4 separate regions of the Homo sapiens genome follow, and regions 1, 2 and 3 are each linked to region 4. The links are contacts of gene promoters, found by promoter capture Hi-C in blood cells and fetal thymus (Javierre and others, 2016). All regions are on one chromosome and are shown on one strand. Each heading gives the region's core, a stretch centred on a gene start or on the middle of the fragment in contact. The rest is flanking DNA. Distances are from core to core; before and after follow the strand shown.

What was found. The method cuts DNA at HindIII sites, captures the fragments that hold promoters and counts their contacts. A CHiCAGO score of 5 or more calls a contact.
Region 1: a contact is called between a fragment that was not itself captured here and the fragment with the promoter of LAMC1 in region 4, in 1 of 17 cell types (endothelial precursors). The highest score is 14.9, in endothelial precursors.
Region 2: a fragment that was not itself captured here is called in contact with the fragment with the promoter of LAMC1 in region 4 in 1 of 17 cell types (endothelial precursors); the score reaches 5.5 in endothelial precursors.
Region 3: a contact is called between a fragment that was not itself captured here and the fragment with the promoter of LAMC1 in region 4, in 1 of 17 cell types (endothelial precursors). The highest score is 8.6, in endothelial precursors.

What each region holds. Positions count from the first base shown.
Region 1 is chr1:183,272,818-183,275,517 of GRCh38, reverse strand. The region is part of intron 8 of NMNAT2 (nicotinamide nucleotide adenylyltransferase 2); the gene reads left to right. Among named protein-coding and RNA genes, the nearest start is that of LAMC2, 88 kb to the right of the region's middle. The HindIII fragment of the contact is 2,568 bases long and covers 48-2,615 here.
Region 2 is chr1:183,239,755-183,242,454 of GRCh38, reverse strand. LAMC2 (laminin subunit gamma 2) reads right to left here. Exons shown (of 23, transcript NM_005562.3): 21 at 2,257-2,415; 22 at 2,064-2,163. Among named protein-coding and RNA genes, the nearest start is that of LAMC2, 55 kb to the right of the region's middle. The HindIII fragment of the contact is 745 bases long and covers 909-1,653 here.
Region 3 is chr1:183,255,927-183,258,626 of GRCh38, reverse strand. All of the region lies in intron 10 of NMNAT2 (nicotinamide nucleotide adenylyltransferase 2), which reads left to right. It also overlaps a transcript of LAMC2 not described here. Among named protein-coding and RNA genes, the nearest start is that of LAMC2, 71 kb to the right of the region's middle. The HindIII fragment of the contact is 1,321 bases long and covers 639-1,959 here.
Region 4 is chr1:183,022,092-183,024,791 of GRCh38, reverse strand. It overlaps LAMC1 (laminin subunit gamma 1), which reads right to left and starts at 1,372. Exons shown (of 28, transcript NM_002293.4): 1 at 658-1,372. The coding sequence starts at 1,075. RefSeq lists enhancers at 456-1,009, 1,565-2,119, 2,120-2,675 and silencers at 964-1,103, 1,124-1,193, 1,244-1,633, 1,664-2,053. The HindIII fragment of the contact is 7,676 bases long and covers 1-2,700 here.

The sequences.
Region 1 (2,700 bases), core at 82-2,581, 250 kb before region 4:
CCCTGCAGAGGCAGCAGAAGGATTTGGGTGAAGCAGACTCCCAAGCTTGCTTCAGAGGGCTTTCTAGAGCCTGGAGCAGACCTGCTTCCCCACCCTGCCAGCCAACTGCTCAGTCCCCTGCCTCAACCCACAGCTGATCTGCGAGGTCCTTAGAATCATTGAGTCTGAGACAGGGAAAAATTTCAAGAAGCTGTTTCCTCACATAATGAGTGTGAATCTCAGTCTATGACAGAGGTGTGCCGGAAATATCATGTTAATGTATTTAAATCAAATTAACATTCCACTCCAAATCCCTATCCCACAGGGTAATTTTAGTCTCAGCCATTATTAATTAGCAGACCTGAAAGGCTCTTGCACACCCCGAACATGAGGACAGGACTTCAATCTCAGTTCACCATGGTCACCACAGACATCTTCCCTGTCCAAGCCTTTGTGGTCCCTTGAAGTCAAAGGTGCCCTGCTCCACACCCACCTGGGGCAGGAACTCCTGGCTGAGTCTGGAGGCCTCGTGCTGGGCCCCATTGTGATCACCAGGCCCGTTCTCCTCTGAGGTTTTGCCCCTAGTGTGCTGCCCAGGAGAGAGGAGGAGTGGGCTCCACAGACCTCTAGCATCTTCCTATTGTAGGGAAAGTTGGTGGGAGGGCAGCAGAACCTGTTCTTTGTTCTTTCTATCCCCAAGTCATCTTCCCTATTTTCTCTCCCCGCTTCAGGACATCTAATGAAATGTCTTTTTTTTCTTTTTTTTTTTTTTAGAGACAAGGTCTCACTATGTTGCCCAGGCTGGTCTCGAACTCCTGAGCCCAAATGATCCTCCCACCTCCGCCTCCCAAAGTGCTAGGATTACAAACCTGAGCCACTGCACTAGGTTCAAAATTTCTTCAATGAGTTTAAAGGCATTGACTTCAGGCCAGGCGTGGTGACTCACGCCTGTAATCCCAGCACTTTGGGAGGCTGAGGCAGGTGGATCACCTGAGGTCAAGAGTTCGAGACCACCCTGGGCAACATGGTGAAACCCCATCTCTACTAAAAATACAAAAAATTAGCCGGGCATGGTGGCGGGCACCTGTAATCCCAGCTACTTGGGAGGCTAAGACAGGAGAATCGCTTGAACCCGGGAGGCAGAGATTGCAGTGAGCAGAGATCGTGCCATTGCACTCCAGCCTGGGTGACAGAGCAAGATTCTGTCTAAATAAATAAATAAATAACAAATAAATAAATAAAGTTATTGACTTCAGAGCATTCTGGTTTTGTCCTGCAAATTCCTCCTGTAAAAGATCTGGCTGTCTGCTAGAAATAGAGCTGGCCAGCCAGGCGCAGTGGCTCACACCTGTAATCCCAGTGCTTTGGGAGTCTGAAGTGGGTGGATCACTTGAGGTCAGGAGTTTGAGACAAGCCTGGCCAACATGGTAAAACCCCATCTCTACTAAAAGTACAAAAATCACCCAGGCGTGGTGGTGCATGCCTGTAATCCCAGCTACTCCGGTGGCTGAGGCAGGGGAATTGCATGAACCCAGGAGATAGAGGTTGCAGTGAGCCAAGATTGTGCCACTGCACTCTAGCCTGAGTGACAAGACTCCAAAAAGCAAAAAAGCAAGAAAGAAGGGAGGGAGGGAGGAAGGGAAGGAAGGAAGGAAGGAAGGAAGGAAGGAAGGAAGGAAGGAAGGAAGGAAGGAAGGGAGGGAGGGAGGGAGGGAAAAGAAAGGAAAGAAAGAGAGAAAGAGAGAGAGGAAGAAAGAAAGAAAGAGGAAGGAAGGAAGGGAGGGAAAAAAGAGAGAAAAAGAAAGAAAGAAAGAGAAAGAAAGAAAAATAGAGCTGGCAGAGGAGGGTGTAGGCAGCACAAAATTACTTAGCACCTCAGTGAATTAGTCCACTGCTCTTATTTGGGGAAGGTTGGATCTCAAGGTCTGGAAAAGGAACATCTTTCAGGAGTGGATACAGAATGAGCCCTGCTTATTGTACTAGCAAGTTCTACCATCTGGGGTTTGCCTGGAAACGCCCATTTTAGGAATTTCAGTTCCTAACCATGAGACTCCTGGAAGCGAGATATGTGAGACCTGCTTCTGTTTCAGGTTTCATTCGTTTGCCCATTCATTCATCCCTTTCTCAGAGCACATTTCTCTTTATTATCGGGTGCCCCGAGTGATACTTGTTGACCACAGACTTTGCTTGGAGACCATGAGGCCAAAACCCTGAAATCTGCTGTTAAAAGAATAACTTCAGCTGAATTACATTTAAAAGAGTTTAATTGAGCAATGAACAATTCACGAATCAGGCGGCATCCCATGCCAGAGTAGGCTCTCAGACTCCAGCGCAGCCATGTGGTAGAAGTTTTATGGACAGAAAAAGGAAGGTGATGTACAGAAAATGGAAGTGAAGTACAGAAACAGTCTTATTTGAACACAGTTCGAACAGCTGGCTACATTGATTGGCCAAAACTTGGTAATTGGCACAAATGTAAGCTAAAGCCTGTTTACACCTCCACTTGTTATAGTTCACCATGTACACAGAGAAATCTTTAGGCCGAACTTAAAATATGCAGGGAGGCAGCTTTAGGCTAAACTTGATTTAACACTGCCCATGACTGGGGACAGAAGGGCAGGAGGGAGATCAAAGCTTTTTCTAGGAAATGTCCTAGGCCCCGGCCCCGCACTCCAGCCTCTCATATCTTCTCCAAATATCTTCAGAAACAAGGCAGGAGGG
Region 2 (2,700 bases), core at 32-2,531, 220 kb before region 4:
ATAGGTTTGAGTGGCCTTGGTCAATTCGAACTCAAGGTCAAGTTGCCTCACATATGTGAGCTGAAGTGATAGTATTTGACTGCATGAGTTTATTATACCTAGAACAATTAATCTCATATTGCTCCAGGACTTAAGAGAGCACACAGAGTAGAAACAACACTGTAACAAAAATGTTGATCCAAATGGATCTTTCACTTGGGGTCAGGGAGAATTTAGGAATTTAGGATTTTACGACATGCAGAGGAAGTTAAGTAAGCTTGGGAACAAAATAACCTTGTCTATGGGAAGGTGGCATGAGTTACTAGAAAAGAACACGAGCATTGGAGGCAAAAAGATATCAGTTTGGATCCTGCCTCTACAATTTACTACATGACCTGTGGGGCATTATTAACCTCTGAGCCTCAGTTCAGTCCTTCATGAAATAAAATAATAAAAATGATAAAACCCACCACAGAGGACTTTTACAAGACAAATGATATTACACCATGAAAACATCTGACACATAGTAAATGTTTAATAGCTTCCATCTACCCTGCTCTCCCTACTCTCTCATATTCTCTTTACAGGTCTCATTAGTTTCATTGCCTTTCTTTTTTTTTTAGAACACTAAACAACGCTGCTAAAGTCTCAATTGGGAAGGTTTTGTTTTCCTTTGTTTTGTTTTTTCCTTTTTTTTTTCTCAATCCTTTGAGGGCATTTTACTCTTTTGGGCTCATTGGATCACAAAGCAGACCCAAGACTATAACAACACAGATGACATTGGCATCTCAGGGTGATGATGACACCCTACAGAAAAATCCAGTTTCGAAGTTGTTCTACTGAACTGGAATAGCAGAGCCAAACATTTTCCTAAATGTTACTGGAATCTGTGACGAATCTCTAGTTCCACATCTGCTGCAGTCCAAGCTTGATAAAACAGACCAAATGAGGGTTTGATATCAGCTCTACCTAAATCCAGAAATTTAACCAAAATAAGTTTTCTTTTGGGAGCGATTCTGTAGGGAAACCTGATTTTCTTCCACGCTGTGCCATCAGATCTTCCTAAAATTATCTCACAGGCCTACTCTCATCACATTTCTTCTGGGTTATTTACCCAAGCAGCTCAAGTTCCTCCCACTGGTTACATCAAGGTATAACTTTGGTTTGGGGAGGAACAAATGTAAAATCGGCAAGTGATTCTTTTTTATTTTTCCTTTTTTTTTTTTTTTTGAGACAGTCTTGCTCTGTTCCCCAGGCTGGAGAGCAGTGGTGCAATCTTGGCTCACTGTAACCTCCGCCTCCTGGGTTCAAGCGATTCTCCTGCCTCAGACTCCTGAGTAGCTGGAATTACAGGCGCCCACCACCACATCCAGCTAATTTTTGTACTTTTAGTAGAGACAGGGTTTCACCATGTTGGCCAGGCTGGTCTTCAACTCCTGACCTCGGGTGATCCACCCGCTTCAGTCTCCCAAAGTGCTAGAATTACAGGCGTGAGCCACCACACCCGGCCGGCAAGTGATTCTTGACTTCACAGACTGGGAAAATCTTCCTTCACATCTTCCCAGCCACCATTCTACTGCCTTAGAGCAGGCTCCTGTCATTTCTCTCTTCAATTATTTCAACAATATCTTAAGTAGTCTCAACCTGCCTTCTCTCTAACCCCCTCTTCAAGCTTTCCTCCACTCGGCTGCCCTAGTGATCTTTCTGAAATATACAGTGGTGATGTTATTCCTCTGCTTAAAACTGTCCACTGGCTTCTCAGGGTCCAGGCCAGACTCTTTAGCAGGATTCCCAAGCTGTCTCGTGTTCTGTGAAGTTGCTTATATACACCTGTTCTTTGGCCCACAGACCTTTACCCCCAAGTGCAATAGGTGTTCAGTGACCCATCTTAGCAACGGTAAAACAGGGTCCAGTAAATGTAAGGGAACCTGCCGAAAGTTATCTGGGCCTGGAAACAAAGCACATTTACTGATATCCTTAAGGAAAGCTGAGACTCCCCTTTGCTGGGGCTAGGTATAGTGAGTGTTCTGGAGCAAAGCCCTGGAGCATGGAGCTGGAAGGTTGTGGGTTGTGGGTTCACATACCCATCAGATGCAGGAGGCCGTCTAATGTGTTGAGTGTGTCTTGGATTGTAACCCCAGCGTTCTTGGCTCTGGTATCAACCTTCTGGGCTTCTGTAATCACCTGAGGACAAATAAGCACAAACCAGCCTTGAAAAGGTATTTTCCATTTTGGCAAGTTGAAAGGGATCTCCCGTGGAAAGCAACAGGAACTCACCATCTGTACTGCATCCATATTCGTGTCAAACTCCAGCTCCTTCCTTTCCAGCTCTCCTTCCACTTCCCTCATCTCACTCTTCAGAGAGGCCAGTCCCTTTTCCATGGCCAAGGCTCCATCTGCTGTCACATTGGCTTCCAAGTTCAGACTCCCAATCTCCTGAGAGAAGAAAAGGAGCCAGGGACGGAAGGAGAGATAGGGGTGAGGCACAAAAACATCCCAAAGACAACCATAGAAAAAATACAGCGGCAGCCGGGCCCTGATGGAGTAAATTAGATGAATAATGAGAGAATCAGACTTAGGGACAGGGGTACTTTGCCAAGCTCTGCCTCAAACAAGCTAATCTGGGGGTATGACTAGGAAGGTCAGCGGCCAGACAGTGCTTCTCTCTCAGTTCAATGCTCACCAAATGTTGAACAGAGTTAGGAACCATTTGGGAAAACC
Region 3 (2,700 bases), core at 50-2,549, 230 kb before region 4:
CCTTGTGGCTAATGTTAGTCCTACAAAGTCAATCTAGTCCCTAGGCAAGAAGGAGGTCTGCTTTGGGAAAGGGCTGTTGTCCTCTTTTTTAAACTATAAACTAAGTTTCTCCCAAACTATAAACTATAAACTAAGTTTCTCCTGAAGTTAGTTCAGCCTACACCAGGAACAAGGACAGCTTGGAGGTTAGAAGCAAGATGGAGTCGGTTAAGTTAGATCTCTTTCACTGCCTCAGTCATAATTTTGCAAAGGTGGTTTCAAGGGCAGTGCATGCATTGAAAGGCAGTGAGCTGGTCTCCAGTGAGATCTCACAGGCAGGGCTCAGATGCCTTTTAGAATCTACGTATGTGGAGGCGTATATGAATTTTTACAAATAGTTCGTTTGGGTCTGACACCTAGACTATTGTGTTAGGAGAGAACAGGAAGTAGGCAGACCAAGGCTGGAAAAAAACTGTGCAGAAGCCAAAATGTGTCACTGGAGTCCTTTATACCTGTTGGTGCCTCTCCTCCATGGGCTCCTGTAGGAAGGAAAAGATGCAGTGAATCCCAAAAATCCCTGGAAGAGAATTCATACTCTTGAGGCCAGCATGCAGAGGAACCCAAAAGGATAAACTAAGGATAGTTCTAAGAGGAAAGCTTCTAACAATAATTGCTCCCATTAAAACAGAAGAAAGACCCCAAATAAATTGCCTAGCATTATGCCTTAAGGAACTAGAAAAAGAAGAACAAACTAAACCCAAAGGAAGGAAATAATAAAGATTAGAGCAAAACTAAATAGAGAATAGAAAAACCATAGAAAAAATTAATAAAATGAAGAGTTGGTTTTTTGAAAAAAAAAAACAAAATTGACAAACCTTTATCTAGACTGAAAAAAAGACTCAAATATATAAAATCAGAAATGAAAGTGTAGACATTATAACAGATGTCTCAGAAATAAGATGGATCATAAGGAATTATTATGAACAATTATATGCAAACAAATTTGGTAACCTAGAGGGCAGGGATAAATTCCTTTAAAAAGATAATCTGGCAAGATTGAATCAGGAATAGCCTGAACAGACCAATAACAAATAGATTGAAGTAGTAATTAAAAACTTCCCAACAAAGAAAAGCCCAGGACCAGATGACTTCAGAGCTGAATTCTACCAAATTTTCAAAGAATAATTAATACCAATACTTCTTTTTTTAGACAGAGTCTCACTCTGTCGCCCAGGCTGGAGTGCAATAGCGTGATCTTGGCTCACTGCAACCTCCGCGTCCCGGGTTCAAGTGATTCTCCTGCCTCAGCCTCCCAAGTAGCTGGGATTACAGGTGCCTGCCACCACACCCAGCTAATTTTTGTATTTTTGGTAGAGACAGGGTTTTACTATGTTGGCCAGGCTGGTCTTGAACTCCTGAGCTTGTGATCCACCCACCTCGGCCTCCCAAAGTGCTGGTATTACAGGCATGAACCACTACGCCTGGCCTATACATTTTAAACTCTTCAAAGAAATACAGCTGGAAGGAATACCTCCTAGCACATTCTACGAGGCCAGCATCGCCTTTGATACCTAAGCCAGATAAAGACACCAAAGAGGCCAGGCACAGTGGCTCATGCCTGTAATCCTAGCACTTTGGGAGGCCAAGGCAGATCGATCACTTGAGGTCAGGAGTTCAAGATGAGTCTGGCTAATATGGTTAAACCCCATCTCTACTAAAAATACAAAAATTATCCAGGCATGGTGGCACGTGACTGTAATCCCAGCTACTTGGGAGGCTGAGGCAGAAGAATCACTTGAACCCAGAAGGCAGAGGTTGCAGTGAACTGAGATCATGCGCTGCTGCACTCCAGCCTGGGCAACAGAAAAAAAAAGACACCACAAGAAAAGAAAACTGTAGGCCAATATTTCTGATGAGCATTGATGTAAAAGTCCTCAATAAAACATTAGCAAATTGAATTCAACAACACAACATGAAGCTTATACATGATGATCAAGTAGGATTTATCCCTGGCACACAAGGCTGGTTTAACATATGCAAATCAGTCAGTGTGATACATCACATAAATAGACTGAAAGATAAAACCACATGACCATATCAATTGATGCAGATAAAGCATTGGACAAAGTTCAACATCCTTTCTTGATAAAGATTCTTAACAGTTTAAATATAGAAGGAAAGTTTCTCAACATAACGAAGGCCATTTTTTAAATTTTTTAATTTTTTTATTATTTTTTTTGAGATGGAGTCTGGTTCTGTCACCCAGGCTGGAGTGCAGTGGCACAATCTCTGCTCACTGCAACCTCCGCCTCCTGGGTTCACGTGATTCTCCTGCCTCAGCCTCCTAAGTAGCTGGGATTACAGGCACACACTACCATGCCCAGCTAATTTTTTGTGTATTTTTGGTAGAGACAGGGTTTCGCTATGTTGGCCAGACTGGGCTCGAACGCCTGACCTCGTGATCTGCCTGCCTCAGCCTCCCAAAGTGCTGGGATTACACGCGTGAGCCACCACTCCCGGCAAGGCAATTTATTTTATTTTTTTTAAAAAACCCACAGCTAACATTATAATCAATGGGGAGAAAATGAAAGCTTTTCCTCTAAGACCTGATATAAAGCAAGAATGCCCACTATTCCCACTTCCATTCAGCAAAGTACTGAAAGTACTATCAATAGCAGTTAGACAGCCAGGCACGGTGGCTCACACCTATAATCCCAGCAC
Region 4 (2,700 bases), core at 123-2,622:
CCCAGCAATTACAGTGAGTGCACTTCCTTTTGTTCATTCTGCACCAGGATTAGCAGTCAAATCGCTTTGTGGTTCTTAATTAAGGCTGAGCAGCTATAAAGAACAATAACTTCAAAAGTGAATTTATGTTTTAATTACACATAGGCAATATAGGCAGCGAAGGCATTTGCTCCCCTCAAATTCCCCCTTAACTCAACAGAGCAATCACCCTCAGCCCTGGAAGGACATCTAAACATTTTAAAGGCGAAAGTGTTTAAGGCGGACCTTCTTGTTTCCGATCCAAGAATGCGCTGTGATGACCTTGCTAGCAAAGAGAAAAGTGGGGATGGGAGTTTCTGATTAACGCTTCAGAAAAAAAAGGGGGAAATCACAATCCTAACAGCCGAAATGCAGAATAATCAGAGAGCCAGAATCCCGTTAAGTCAGAAAGAACAGGAAAGCAGAGAGACTCGTGCGGAACATCCTGGCCCTCACGGGATGTTAAAAGCAGTATCTATTTAAGAAGTTGGAGAAAGGAGTTTCTGTGTGGCCCATGCCGGGGAACAGAGAGCAAACACGCGGCCGTCTGCGCCCGTGAGGCCGGCCACTGGGACGGAGCCGGTCCGGGAGCTGGGCTGCTGGCGAGCAGTAGCAGGGGACGGGGCTGTCACCGCTTACCCAGGTGCAGCGTGAGGTTGATGGAGCTGGGGTACTGCACCCCGGCCAGCATGGTCTGGCTTTGCCACCAGGTGGTGTCGGCCTGGTTGTTGTAGTCGGTCAGGAAGGCTGCCCCGTGCTGCAGGTGGGGCTGCCCGGCGTCGCACAGGTGACAGGACTTGGTGACCCCGGTCACCCCGGTCTGCACACAGTATTCCTCGGGCGGAGTCCCACACGTGTTGGTGGCCACCACAGTCACGTTGAAGGCGGCGTTGACGAACTCGGGCATGCAGCGCTGCGGCCGCCCGCCCTCGTCCGTGCACTCGTCCATGGCTGCCTGGGCACAGCCCGCCGCGGCGGCCGCCGCCAGCACGGCCAGCACGGGCCAGAGCCGCCCCCGGGGCCGCAGGGCCGGCGCGGCCCGATGGCTCCCTCTCATCCCGCCGCCCGCACGCTGGGTCACGGCGAAGGCAAGGGCACCGGCGCGTTCCTCTCGCCTAGCGGCGTCCCCCGGAGGCCGCTTCGCTGCTTGAGCCTGGGGGCCCAGGGGCCTGACTCCGGCGCGGGCGGTGGCGGCGGCTCGCGCCGGAGAGACTGACGGGTGGGCGCCCCTAGCGAGGACCGCGCTGCTCGCCGACCACTGCCCCCGCGCGCCGCCTCCGCGCTTCCCTCACCTACCCCGGGAGCAGCCTGCACTCCGCGCCGACCCCCGACTTCCGAGCGCGTGCCCGAGTGCGCGCCCCCGGGGAGGAAGGAGCAGGGGGTGGGGTCGGCAGGGTGGGGTGGGGTCTGGGCGAGGAGAAAGCCCAACCCTGTCTCCTCTCAGCAACTCCCGCGGCCCCTGGGGCAACTCCCCGGCCCACCGCGCCCCATGGACTGCGCGTCCGCCCCGGCGACTCCAGGAGGCGGCGGGGGCGGGAGCAGCGGCGTCTCGCGCTCGGGCCCGCGGCGCGCGACCCGGGGGGAGGGGCGCGCGAGGTGGGCGGGGAGCCGGGGGAGGGGGTTGGGGGAGGGGAGGGGAGAGGAGGGGAGAGGAGGGGAGGGGAGAGGAGAGGAGGGGAGGGGAGGGCGGCTGGGTGGTGCATGCCGGGAGGGAAGGGCGGCCTCGCAGACCCGCTCCCCGCGCGGGAGTCGCTGGGGTCCTTGGGCTCCGCGGCCTGGGAGACTCCGGATTGCGGGAGGAGTCGGGGGAGGGCGCCTTAGAGGGGCGATGCCGGGTCAGGAGGTCGCTCGGGGTCGTCCCTGGGGCCTCGCGCCAATTTGGGCTGCGGCAAGAGGGTCCCCGCCCGGCCAGGTGTGGGTCCGAACCGGGAGCGCCCGCTGCTGCCCGGGGCCCCGCTCCAGCCCCTCCCGAACAGAGGTCCCGGGGCGTTCATGGGGCCGACACGGTCCCTGGAGAATCAGAAGGGCCTGGTCGCAGCAGCCAGATGAGTTTCGTGAAGCGATTTCCTGCCGCTGATTTAAAGTGTAACCAGTCGTTTTACCGGGGCAAGGAAGGAAGTGAAAAGGCTGGGAATGGAATGAATTTTTCCCTTGGGTACGCACGACCCACTGCGAAATTCTTCCACTGTGTTGTTTGTGTTCCTCGGCTTGCCTTTAAAAGACTCGAAATTATGTGGATTCTGACATCCTCCTTTTCGGGCCTGCTGAGTCACGGAATATTCTCAGTGCCAGAATGACTCAGTTCACAGAACCTGAGCCAGAAGATCATGAGTTTTAGTCCCGGAGCAGAACCTGGGCGCTTACCCAGTGCTGGATACGGCAAGCAGAGACCAGGGCAGGGAGGCAGCAGCTTGAAACCCTTGGCGTCCCCAAGCAGAGAGGATGCACATAGTGAATGACACGGATTTGTTTTGTTCTAGCTTTTCAGGAATTTAATGATAAAGTGCGGATAATAAGTACACCGCAAAAACAAAACAAAAAAACACATGCATAATTTCGGACCCAGTTGTCCCATTAAGATAGGCGTAATGGGAATCTGAAACAAGGAAATAAGTATATGTTAGGTGACTCTGGATAGTTAGGGTTAGTTAGACGCAGACTGCTGATTAGGAAAACCTTAAG